Regions from separate parts of the Homo sapiens genome. Here all the other regions are linked to region 1. Evidence: promoter capture Hi-C in 16 types of primary human blood cells and fetal thymus (Javierre and others, 2016). All regions are on one chromosome and are shown on one strand. The core of a region is centred on a gene start or on the middle of the fragment in contact, and the rest is flanking DNA. Distances in the headings are between cores, read along the strand shown. Region 1 holds the start of PSMD1 (proteasome 26S subunit, non-ATPase 1). Region 2 overlaps CAB39 (calcium binding protein 39). Region 3 overlaps GCSIR (GPR55 cis regulatory suppressor of immune response RNA). Region 4 has its middle 18 kb from the start of ITM2C.

Region 1 (2,700 bases), core at 137-2,636:
GGTCAGGAGATCGAGACCATCCTAGCTAACATGGTGAAACCCTGTCTCTACTAAAAATACAAAAATTAGCCGGGTGTGGTGGCATACACCTGTAGTCCCAGCTACTTGGGAGACTGAGCAGGAGAATCGCTTGAACCCAGGAGGCGGAGGTTGCAGTGAGCCGAGATCGCGCCATTGCCCTACAGCCTGGGTGGCAGAGGGACACTCCATCTCAAAAAAAAAAAAAAAGAAGTACCTCTGTAGAATGACACCCCAAGTAATCTGTTTACTTTGCATGCACATCTTCTCGAGCCCTGCCTTTCAATCTGAGCCACAGGCTCTTCAAAAATGTTCAATAATTATATTTAATATATTTTAAACAACCACAGTTTAAGAATTCTAATTTAAACAAAAAAAGTCACAGATACAACAAAATGTGTTATCAAGCACATTTAATTCACTGGCAACCACAAGACATTGATTGTGCCCCTAGGTTACGTAGAAGGCCGTAGAAATGAACTCGCCATCGCTGTGCGATTGAAGAGTTTAGCTTGATAGTGCAAGGCCGGTGGCTGAAAAAAATGCTACCGTTTGCCCTATTCCTTGTCAAGACTTTCTCAGTACTGACTCTTGAAATAAATTGACTTCTTGAAGCTAGCATAAGACTGCAAATGGCCATTGCAACTGCCATTTCAAATTTCTGAAGATGTATTAGAAACGAAGAACCCACTGCCGTCGGGGGAAAGAGGACCTGGGCAGATAGAAGGAAAGAATGGAAGACATTTTTTCTCCCTTGGAAAGGCTTTCGCCATATAACTACTGCACATTTTAATATATTGACAACACTGGACATTTTTCCAAAAGTAAGTAAAAACCTTCATTGTTCAACTTTATAATAAGCCAATGATTACTTGTGGATTCATTATGATAATAAAGCACTTCTATGGGGATTTTCTTTTTTTTATGATAGGTTTTGCTTTAGAAAACAATTGAAAGCCACTTTTCTGGGAAAAAAAACAAAAAACAAAAAAAAACGCTGTTTGCGGCAGCCCCAATTCCCTAAGCATTATCTGGTGGGAGATGTGTTGCAGCGAGACCTCCCACCAGTAGGTGGCACTGCGCGCAATGCTCGCACCTCCCCTCAACACCCTTTCTCTCAGCAATGGCGGGTGATGGTGGGGGTCCTCTCTTTGCAGGGCTGGCCATTCTAATGCCTGACCTCAGGTGCAGACCAGTGTTCCGTTGCGCGGGACTCCTGACCTCGAGGAGGTTTAGAGAAAACAATGGTGTTCTCTGTGTACCCTTCCGCGAGGGCTGGGGAGTATACCGCCGCGCAGAAGACGCAGGCCAGGGGAGAATTCGCGCCGGGCGGCAGGCGGGGTGGCGGGCAGCCCCTGGGCGGGCGGGGTCCTGGCGAGAAGCGAGCCGGCGGCCTGAGGAGGCGACTGACTGAGCAGCGCACCCGGGGAGCAAGGAGGCGCGGTGAACTGAGCGGCCCCTGAGCTGACAGATACACTGCGCAGCTGGAACGGCGAGCGAGCCGACGGGCGAGTGAGGGGCGCAGCCATGATCACCTCGGCCGGTGAGTGCGGCCCGTAGCCAGCGCCTGGAGGGAGGAGCCGCCGCCGCGCCGGCTTTTAGCTGAGTCAGGGCCGGTGACTGGGCGCCTCCCGGCGGAACGCCGGCCTGGGCAGCTTCTTGCTGCCCAGGGCCCACCCCCGGGCCGGGGGGCTGGGAGTCTGATCAGGTCACTGCGTGCTTCTCTGGCTTGAGGGAATCGAGCCGGGTCGACCGCCTCGGCATCCCTCCCCAATCACACCCCAGCGCCAGGACCCGAGGGGCTTCCTGGGCCTTCCCCTGACCCCAGAAGGGCTTACCTTTTTTCTGTGCCTCCCATTCTTGGCCGTGTGAGGTCGTCCAGCCCCAGTTCTTGCCCGCAGGGGGCCGGGGTGGGATGGGCCCCTGTGCCATTGAACAGTAAGGCAAACCCCCCTGATCGGGCAGCCTAACTGCTACAGAAGTGTTTCTGGACGTGGCCGAGCTCCATTCGCCTTAGAATGAAACCCGAAATTAGGTTTGAGGTGGGTCATTTCTGGGTCCGATCCAAGGGTGTTCATTCAAAACACCCAGAGAACTTTTGGGTTCGGCGAAGACCCTAAAGACGCCCTGGAGATACCTTTATACTGAGAGCCTACTTATACCCTTTCGAGGTTATGTGCTCAGTCTGTTGACTGTACATTCAAGAAAGAATGGATGGATCTGCGGAGCAGGTTTCATACGCGCAAACCATTGCATAGGTAGATTCACGTAGTGACATTTGCAATGGAGTAAGTTACAGAGATCAAGTTTCAATTGGAGACTTAAGCTCCCCGTTACAGATTGACTTGCATATAGCTGTCCAGAGCCTTGGTGCTTTTTTCCGTTGCCTATTTACATACCCTTTTCTCATTTTCTTACTCTGTGTTTGACCCACAAAGAAAGCATTTTATTGTAAACAAACTGGTGAGCAGAAGACAGTAATCTGAATGGTAAGGCGATCAAAACTTTATTTTTATGAGGATTGGTTAAGGAGATCGTTGGAGATACTGGGAGACGTAGTTACTTTCAAACATTTGAAGAGCTGTCACTTGTACCTGAAATAAGACTTTTTGTCCCCAAGAGATACAAGTGATCGCGAGATGAATTTTAGTTCAGTATCAGGAAGTTTTTCCAGTCAGAGCT
Region 2 (2,749 bases), core at 221-2,720, 240 kb before region 1:
CCTATGTGTTTGCACCCATCTTTGTTGGCGATCTGAGTGCAGTGTGGCAAGTGCACACCTGGCATCCCTGCGTCAGATCGCGCACCTTCAGGTCGCGCACCTTCGCTGAAGGAAGATGACGCAGAGCTTTATCTGAAATCAGAGGGGAGCTATCCAAAATGGGAGTTTGGGGGCAGCTAAAGTTGACATGCGAATAAATTGATACTGAAACTTAGCAACTTCTTAAAAGTGTAAAGAAGCCTCATAAGATCATAAGGAAAATGTATATATGCTTTTCACAGCTTTCTAGAATTTTTTGACATTTGATTTTCTTGAGACTTGTAAACCTGGATATGTTGAAGGGTATTTGTTAATTTTACTTTTCAAAGATACTTTAAAACAGTAGAGCTAGCAATGACACCTTGCATTTCATTTCAACACTGCTTCAAGGTTTCTTTTGTATATAATTCTTAGAATGCTCATTTCTTTTAAATGGTTTAATTTGTACAGCAGAGGAATGTTATTGTAGTAGTATGTAACTATTACCTAATACTGAGTTTTTGCAAAAAACAATGAATGCTCATATGTAATTGAAATACTTCAGATCACATGAAAATGCTGATTTAACATTTAAGTATCACAGCATTAAAAGAAAAAGAAAGTAAACCAGTCCTTTGTATTCAGTTACCTAATGGGGTGCCATCAATAAGCTGCGATACAGCCCTGGAGCTCAGTCAGCCACACCTTCCTGCATCCTATTGGCCTTATTCATTTTAAATGAGTTAATGAATCTGCCAGATCTGTGAATGATAGAGATTATGCTAAATTAATGCTGATTCTTTGTGTGTGTGGGAAATCTCTGTAGAGCACCTTTTCTTTCTTAGACTAAGTAACCCAGTACAATAGTTGTGAACTGAATAATTAAAACTTTGGCTTCTCTTAGGAAAAGACGACTTCCTAGTCATAGGTGTCCTATGGGGAAATTTATTTTTTTTAATGTCCTGTTCCTTAATGCTGCAAATTATCAGTATTTATAAAGTAACTGATTTTGCACCACTTTTTTGTTACTGTGACCACGGCAGAACAATGTCTTCTAGACTATATCTATGTAAAGTTATTAGAATGGTATCTGTTCATTTTAGTGATATGAAGATCACAACTAACAACTGACAAATCAGAGTTTGCCAGTTCAAATTCAGCATGGCTGCAGCTGATTAAGAAATTGATATGATTATTCTTTGCTAGCCTCTCTTACTAATGGAATTATATACTGGCCAGTAAAATGGGCCTCCCAATTGCTGTTTCAGCAGGTTTTAAACCTTCAGGAACACCAGTTAGGAAAATAGCTCCAGAAAATATAGATATATTTTATTTTTATTAAAATGGCAGTCTACATCATAATTGGCATTTCTCAAGACTGTCTTTACCAGAATCTGTGTGAAATAAGGCAATCTAGTCTCCTTGAAAAAAAAATCTCTTGGATGTTTAGGAAGGAAGACTTGGCCGTGATGTGGTGTCCTGGCTTTGTGGTGTAGTGCTGTGTGTATGGAGTTAGTGTAAAAACATGGATTACACCAAGTGGAAGAAACGTCTTCTTGCCAAGCTCATTCTTAGAACTTACACATCTAGAACAGCTTCCACTTTGGCAGTGAGGTCGTAGCCTTTTAGGTGGAAGAAGTGAGGGTGCAGCGTGTCAGACACAACATTCATGTTACTCTTACATTGGAATCTGAAGGTAGTTCAGACTTCGTGGGTTTTGTTTTTAAGCAAAACAATGTGAAAACATTTAAGTTTGAAATGTTGCATTTGAAGTTATGATCATTTAATATATTCATATTACCAAGACTATTATACTGGAAGTGGTTTTTGTGTTATAAAGGTTTAATTTTACATAAGGCAGTTACTTAATGTGATTTTTAACCCTTAAAAAAGTGGAGATGTATACATTTGTTAACAATGCCATGAAAGCATTTTCTTTCTCCTAAGGAAAAGTGAATTTCTTATCAGAATATCTGGCTGGCCCTGTAATTTAAATTAAAATAAAATTTTGGAGAAACAGCATTGTCTGTCTTTATGATGTGTTATAGACAGTTGCATTTGTGTTACTGTGAACAGCTTCATCAGGAGACACACAAGCCCGAATTTTATCACCAACTGAAAGTGGAGGGACAGTTAACACCCATTCCTGTCTGCCTTTTTCCCTGTTCAGGGGCTTCACTTCCCCCCCACCGCCCCCGTGCTCATGTTTTCCTTACCCTTCCTGAGTAAAATCACACCTTTTAATGGTACCATTTCTTAGACCCTAACGTTTGAGGAGTAGATCCTCTCTTGCGCTGTTAGCAACACCGCGAGGCTAAACTAGAACACTCGGCCCGGAGTATTCACAGGTTACTGATGTGAAATGATCATGAAGGCGAGGGGACCGTGGAAGCAGGCACAAGAACTCTGGCACCGTAAAGAATGTCCCTCGTCTGCCTTCCAGGGTGCCTCGTAATCCTTAGTTCACAGCCCTGCCCTCGACTTTAACCCCTGTCAGTAAATGAAATCTTATTCTCTGGAGTGAAGGCAAGGGACATGCTCTTGCCAAAAACACTTCATCCGAATAACAATGTCCTATTTGTTATTTCTGTCAAGTAGTTCAGTCTACTTGTACGTTGTAGTTCCCCAAAGGTGACAAGGGCCCATTAAGTCATAACTTGTGACTTGGCCACTTATAAGGATCACCAGGCTGAGGACTGGATTCACGCTTCAGCTCAAATTCCACTTCCTA
Region 3 (2,700 bases), core at 70-2,569, 160 kb before region 1:
TTTCTCCATCATCCCAGCCCCACGAGATCTTACCCGCTTCACTGGTAACACCCAGAATCCTCAGCACAACTGCTACCACCAGGTACTGCCTTGCTCCTTTACACTGTTATGTTGTTTGAATCTGTTATGCAGCTGATTATGTGTATTCCTATTTCTACTAGGCACACATGGTTCTACCTGGCTAACTACAGTGGATTCATTGCCCAAATGAGGTAGGCAGCTGCTTCAACATATAGAGAGGCCAGGTATCCAATATAAGGAACCACATTATCCCAGTTTGCCTGGAACTTTCCAAGCTTTAACACTGAGTAGCCTTGGTCTCCCTCAGTCCTGGACAGACTGGGACATTTGGTCACCTTGTTCAATGAGCAGGAGCAGGAGGAGAGTGTTGTCTAGGAGAAGCCCCCTTTTATTTATTTCCCTTCTGAGACAGGGTCTCGCTCTGTCACCCAGGTTGGGGTCCAGTGGCAGGATCACAGCTCATTGCAGCCTCAACCTCCCGAGCTCATGCAATCCTCCCACCTCAGCCCCCCAAGTAGCTGGGATGACAAGCACACCACCACACCCAGTTATTATTATTATTATTATTATTTTTAATAGAGACAAGGTCTCACTACATTGCCCAGGCTGGTCTCAAACTCCTGAGCTCACGCGATCCTACCACCTTGGCCTCCCAAAGTGCTTACAGGTGTGAGTCACTGCACCCGGCCGGGAAGCCTCTTTTTAAAGTAAAGGACATAGACTGCACAGATTCAGCCCAGACTCCATCTATTTATCTATTTAATTGAGCTCCTACAATTTATTGAGCTTCTACTATGTGTCTGACACTCTGCTAAGTTCTGAAGATCCAGAGATGAACAAGACCTAGTCCCTTCCCTGAAGAGTTTATAGTTCAGAGCAGGCATTAGGGAAATTTTTTGCAAAGGGCTAGATTACAAGTGTTTTCAGTTTTACAAACCATACAGTCTCTGTCATAACTACCGTGGTCTGCTGTAGCTCCAAAGCAGCCACTGCAGACAGTGTGAATGGACATGACTGTGTCCCCACAAGACTTGAAGGGCAGCAGCCTCCTGGCACAGAGGTGGAGAAAAACACACAAAGCCTCAGAGCACCTGCCAGGCCCCTGCTGAAGGTAGCAGCTCCAGGCGGCCCCATAGGCGGCATCTCACATGGCCCCATCTCCTCCGCCGTGGTTGACTGGACCAGGGAGGAGCACGTGATTCACAGGTAGCCCATCCTCAGGCTGCCAGTGATGGACACGGGTGGAGAGGCCAGCAGAGATAGTGGCCGCCAGCTGGGACAACGGTGGTAGGAGACAGAGACCGAAAGGCAGGAAGGATAGAGCAGAGCCAATAGACTTCCCTGGACCCTCAAGCCCTTCCAAACCTGAGCCGTGTTCCAGGCCCCATGGGGACCTCCCGGGAGGTCTTGCTGTGAGCCTGTCCTGGGACCCGGGCAGGCTTGCACGGAGCTGAGAGTCCTGTCTTCTTTATTTCCATGTACATCCTTCAACAAAACAGCTTTTGCTTCCTTCTTTCTTGTTTAACAATTCAGTAATTTTTAGAAAATTTATAAAGTTGTGCAACCATGCAACCATCACTGTCACCCAGCTTCCATAATAAACCTGAATGAGCTCCCTGCACTCAAGAGACCCTCACTCACCCCAGTTCCTTGTGGAAAGTTAGGGTGCCATGGGATCACAGAGGAGGGACCCCCAGCTGGGGCCAGGGGCTCCGAGAAGTCTTCCCAGAGAGACCCAAGGACAGTCAGAGAATTCCTGGGATGATGTGGGGAAGGGGGATCCCCATCACCTCTTTGACCTTTAGTGGGCAGCAAGGGCCAACATCTGACCAGGTGCCTCGTGCAGCAGGCATGGTGTAGACAGAACACTTTGTCAGATGCCGATGAATCAAGCAGCTTTCCTTTTCCTCCATACCCTCCATGCCCTCCTGTGGCAGCCTCAGTCCACCCCAGCGTCCTTAGACAGGGCCTTGCAGGCCAGGGCACACTGCAGGAAAGGGAAGAATCTGCACGTGGCTCCCTGGGGCCGTCGATGATGGGCTTTGCTGCCTGCACCACCCGAGTTTTCATCCAAGAAAACACCCTAACCTGGTATTTCCCAAGGAATTCAAGTGAAATTGTCAAAAGGGCTTACATCCCTGTTTTAAGGCTGTGGAAGAGGTCTGGCCATACAATCTCCCTCTCCCTTTCCCCTTCACCCCCAGGAAAGAGAGAATCTCCAAGCACCCATACCCAGGGCCTCTGTCTTCCCACTCCCCTCTCCCATCTCCCCATAAGGAGCCTTTCTCTTGCTGAAGCAGGAAACTTCATTTTGCTAACAGGAAGCTTCTTTGTTCCCTGCAAGAGAAACCAGCTCCAGCTAATTCAAGCAAAAGAAGGCTCTTCGCAGGGATGTGGAGCAGCTCACAGTTGCAAAGAGGTTGCTGAGCAACGTGCACTGCCTGGAGGTGACTGCAGCGGCCCTGGGCTTCCCTGGGCTCCCCCGCTGGCAGACAGAATCTGACAGCACGGTTTGGTGCAAGGGTCCCTGGCCTTGGTCCTTTGGATCACTCAGTGACAGGGAACAGGAGCCAGTCTGCTTCCCTATCCCATTAGAAGGATCTGGATTTGCTCCATTCACCCAGACCTGGGTTTCACCAGGAACTAGGGGTGTACATCATCTATGCCCAAACCCAGGGC
Region 4 (2,803 bases), core at 42-2,541, 210 kb before region 1:
TTAGAAACCAAAAGGTTGTCTAGTAGGCATCCGACAGGGCAGCAGGCAGCACAGTGGAGGGGGTGTCTCAAGGACTATTTCAGCAGATGATGGAAATACGCAATGACTTTCCCCAGACCTGCAGACTCGATTTGTTGTTTAGTTCGCTCTGAACTTCATGTGTCCCTTCCTTGGGCTTGATTCACCTCCACCCCTTAGCAAGCAGCTGGTGCTTATTACACTGTTGGTTAAATGAATGAGTTTTTGAAAGCTTTCAAGTCCCTATCCTTTGAGCTCCCTGTTCTACCTCCTCTGAACACATTCTTTCCTCACACCAGGTACAGCATGACTAGTTAGGCCTCAGCTTGCCTAAGGCCTATTTACAAATAATGTCTTAGAGTGGGTCATTCCTTTCAACCATTATACTTTGATTTTTCTTAATTTCATTCTAAGGATCACATTATCTAAGTGTGTTAGTTTGCTAAGGTTGCCGTAACAAAGTACCGCGGACTGGGTGGCTGGAAGTCCAAGACCAAGGTGTCTGCAGGGTTGGTTTCTCCAGAGGCCTCTCTCCCTGGCTTGTAGATGCCATCTTCTCCCAAGGGGTCTCGTGGTCCCCCTTTTGTGTGTGTCTGTGTCCGAATCTCCTCTTCTTATAAGGACAGTGATGTAAAAGGAATGAAGGGGGCGGGGGGGTGGCCAGCACTGGATTAGGACCCACTCTAATGACCTCATTTTAATTTAATTACCTCTTTAAAGACCCTATCTCCAAATACAGTCCCATTCTGAGGTATTGGAGATTAAGACTTCAACATATGAATTGAGGATAGGGGTACAATTTAGCCCATTAAACTGTCACCAATTCCTAGACTTAACTTTTTTATTGACAACAATAATTACAGATGAAAAAATGTCCTTAAGCATAGCCCAAAAGACAGCTCAAGTTCTAAAAAGAAATGCCTCCCATACCCAGGCCAAAGAGGTCCACACTCCCTAAACAAGTACAAACTGCTAGGGGGACCCACATGCCCTTATCCCTGTGGATGAACCTGAACTTTAATCTTGTGGGTGAAACACAACTGCGTTGTGAAACATGAATATGAAAGAACAGACAAGGTAACCAGATGCATGTGCTACAGTTTTTCCTGATTGAGTTTCCACTTCTACAACAAATAGACTCTGGATTTGACAAGAGTGGGTGATCTCTAGTAGACCCGTCTTGCCCCGGCTGACTCCTGTTCATCAGCTCATCACTTCAACGATGCCTCCCCAGAAAAGCCCACCCTGACTACCCTAGCCAATGCTGGCCACCCCCCACCCTTCATTCCTCTTACGTCACTGTTTTATTTTCTTCAAAGCACTTACTCTTGGAAATAATCACACTTATTTACTTGCTTATTGCCTGTCTCCTTTCTTTAGAACATAGACGAAAGGGAATAGTAGGGCCCTTGTCTATCTTGGTTCAAGCCTGAATCCCCACAGCCTGGTGCATGAGACACCTCGCTCAATCAATAGGCATTGAATGAATGAATAAGACGCTGCTGCACTTTTAAGAGTAAGTGTGACTTTCAGGTGACTTTTTTTTTTTTTTTTGAGACAGGGTCTTACTCCGCCACCCAGGCTGGAGCGCAGTGGTGAGATCTCAGCTCATTGCAACCTCTGCCTCCCAGGTTTGAGTGACCCTCTCACCTCAGCCTCCTGAGTAGCCGGGATTACAGGCATGCACCACCATACCCGGCTAATTTTTGTATTTTTAGTGGAGACGAGGTTTCACCATGTTGGCCAAGCTGGTCTCGAACTGCTGACCTCAAGTGATCCACCCGCCTCAGCCTCCCAAAGTGCCGGGATTACCTCCCAGAGTGCTGAGCCACCGCGCCCGGCCTCAAGTGACTTTTTCATATTCACCTTCCAAACTGTATTTGTCTTTTTCTGAGTCTAAAGTGGTTAAAAATCATTTGCCTTCCTTCTGGGCGGTGACTCAAACTTGTAGCCGGGAAGGAAGGCGGAGGAGGGGAGTTCGGGGTGGAACTCAACAGTAGCAGAAGCGCGGCCCTGCAGACTGCCACAAGGGGGCGCCGCCGGAACCCAGTTTCTCTCGAGGTCTTCGCCCCGAGCGAGGCCCGGCGGGGACTCCCGGAGGCCTCAAGGGCCCTCAGCTAGGCGCCACCACCTCCAGGCCTGCGGTCCGCGAACGTGCCTCTTGCCCTCTGCAGGTTCTCCCAACCGCGGGAAGAGAGGTCCGGCCCGCGACGGAGTTCCCAGGAAGAAGGCTGGCTGCAAAAACATTCCCTTCGCAGCAACTACAAATACAGAATTCCTAGGAAGAAATTTATAATCTACCTAAAGAAAGGCACAAAGCTTTACTACGGACCATAAAGCTTAAAGTAAATGGAGAGACAAACCACATTCTTGGATGGGAAGATTATGAAAATGCTGATTCTCCCCAAAATTAAAGCAAATCCAATTTAAATCCCAACAGGTTTTTGCAAACAAGTAGCAAACCATTCTAAAATTTGTCTTGAAAAGCCAACACATTGCAATAGTCAAGATCATTAAAAAAAAAAAAAAAGTAGTGATGACCAACAATTTTGATGTTTGTTTATGTGTGTCTATCAGTGCTGGAAGGAAATATTGGTGAATATATAAGGAGGAGAGGAACTTTCTGCGTGCACAAGCAAGGAATAAACCATAATAGAAAAGTTTGATAGATTTATGTATCAAAAGAGCCTATGAATGCAATAAAGAGGCAGATGTCAAAATGGAAAAATACCAGTGACTTCTGATGGACACAGGTAATATTCTTAATATACAGAGGGGTCTTCTC

The links. Contacts are between HindIII fragments. The CHiCAGO score rates a contact against its expected background, and 5 or more counts as called.
Region 2: a fragment that was not itself captured here is called in contact with the fragment with the promoter of PSMD1 in region 1 in 3 of 17 cell types (naive CD8 T cells, fetal thymus and endothelial precursors); the score reaches 8.1 in naive CD8 T cells.
Region 3: a contact is called between a fragment that was not itself captured here and the fragment with the promoter of PSMD1 in region 1, in 1 of 17 cell types (M1 macrophages). The highest score is 5.4, in M1 macrophages.
Region 4: a fragment that was not itself captured here is called in contact with the fragment with the promoter of PSMD1 in region 1 in 1 of 17 cell types (fetal thymus); the score reaches 5.9 in fetal thymus.

Annotation. Positions count from the first base shown.
Region 1 is chr2:231,055,481-231,058,180 of GRCh38, forward strand. It overlaps PSMD1 (proteasome 26S subunit, non-ATPase 1), which reads left to right and starts at 1,387. Exons shown (of 25, transcript NM_002807.4): 1 at 1,387-1,561. The coding sequence starts at 1,546. LOC112268432 (a long non-coding RNA gene) reads right to left here and starts at 2,266. Exons shown (of 2, transcript XR_002959456.2): 1 at 1,857-2,266. RefSeq lists a silencer at 1,288-1,477. The HindIII fragment of the contact is 9,212 bases long and covers 1-2,700 here.
Region 2 is chr2:230,819,036-230,821,784 of GRCh38, forward strand. It overlaps CAB39 (calcium binding protein 39), which reads left to right. Exons shown (of 9, transcript NM_016289.4): 9 at 1-2,040. Among named protein-coding and RNA genes, the nearest start is that of ITM2C, 45 kb to the right of the region's middle. The HindIII fragment of the contact is 3,617 bases long and covers 1-2,749 here.
Region 3 is chr2:230,897,009-230,899,708 of GRCh38, forward strand. GCSIR (GPR55 cis regulatory suppressor of immune response RNA) reads left to right here. Exons shown (of 4, transcript NR_038238.1): 3 at 1-82. Among named protein-coding and RNA genes, the nearest start is that of GCSIR, 12 kb to the left of the region's middle. The HindIII fragment of the contact is 2,050 bases long and covers 295-2,344 here.
Region 4 is chr2:230,846,037-230,848,839 of GRCh38, forward strand. No RefSeq gene overlaps it. Among named protein-coding and RNA genes, the nearest start is that of ITM2C, 18 kb to the right of the region's middle. The HindIII fragment of the contact is 2,087 bases long and covers 249-2,335 here.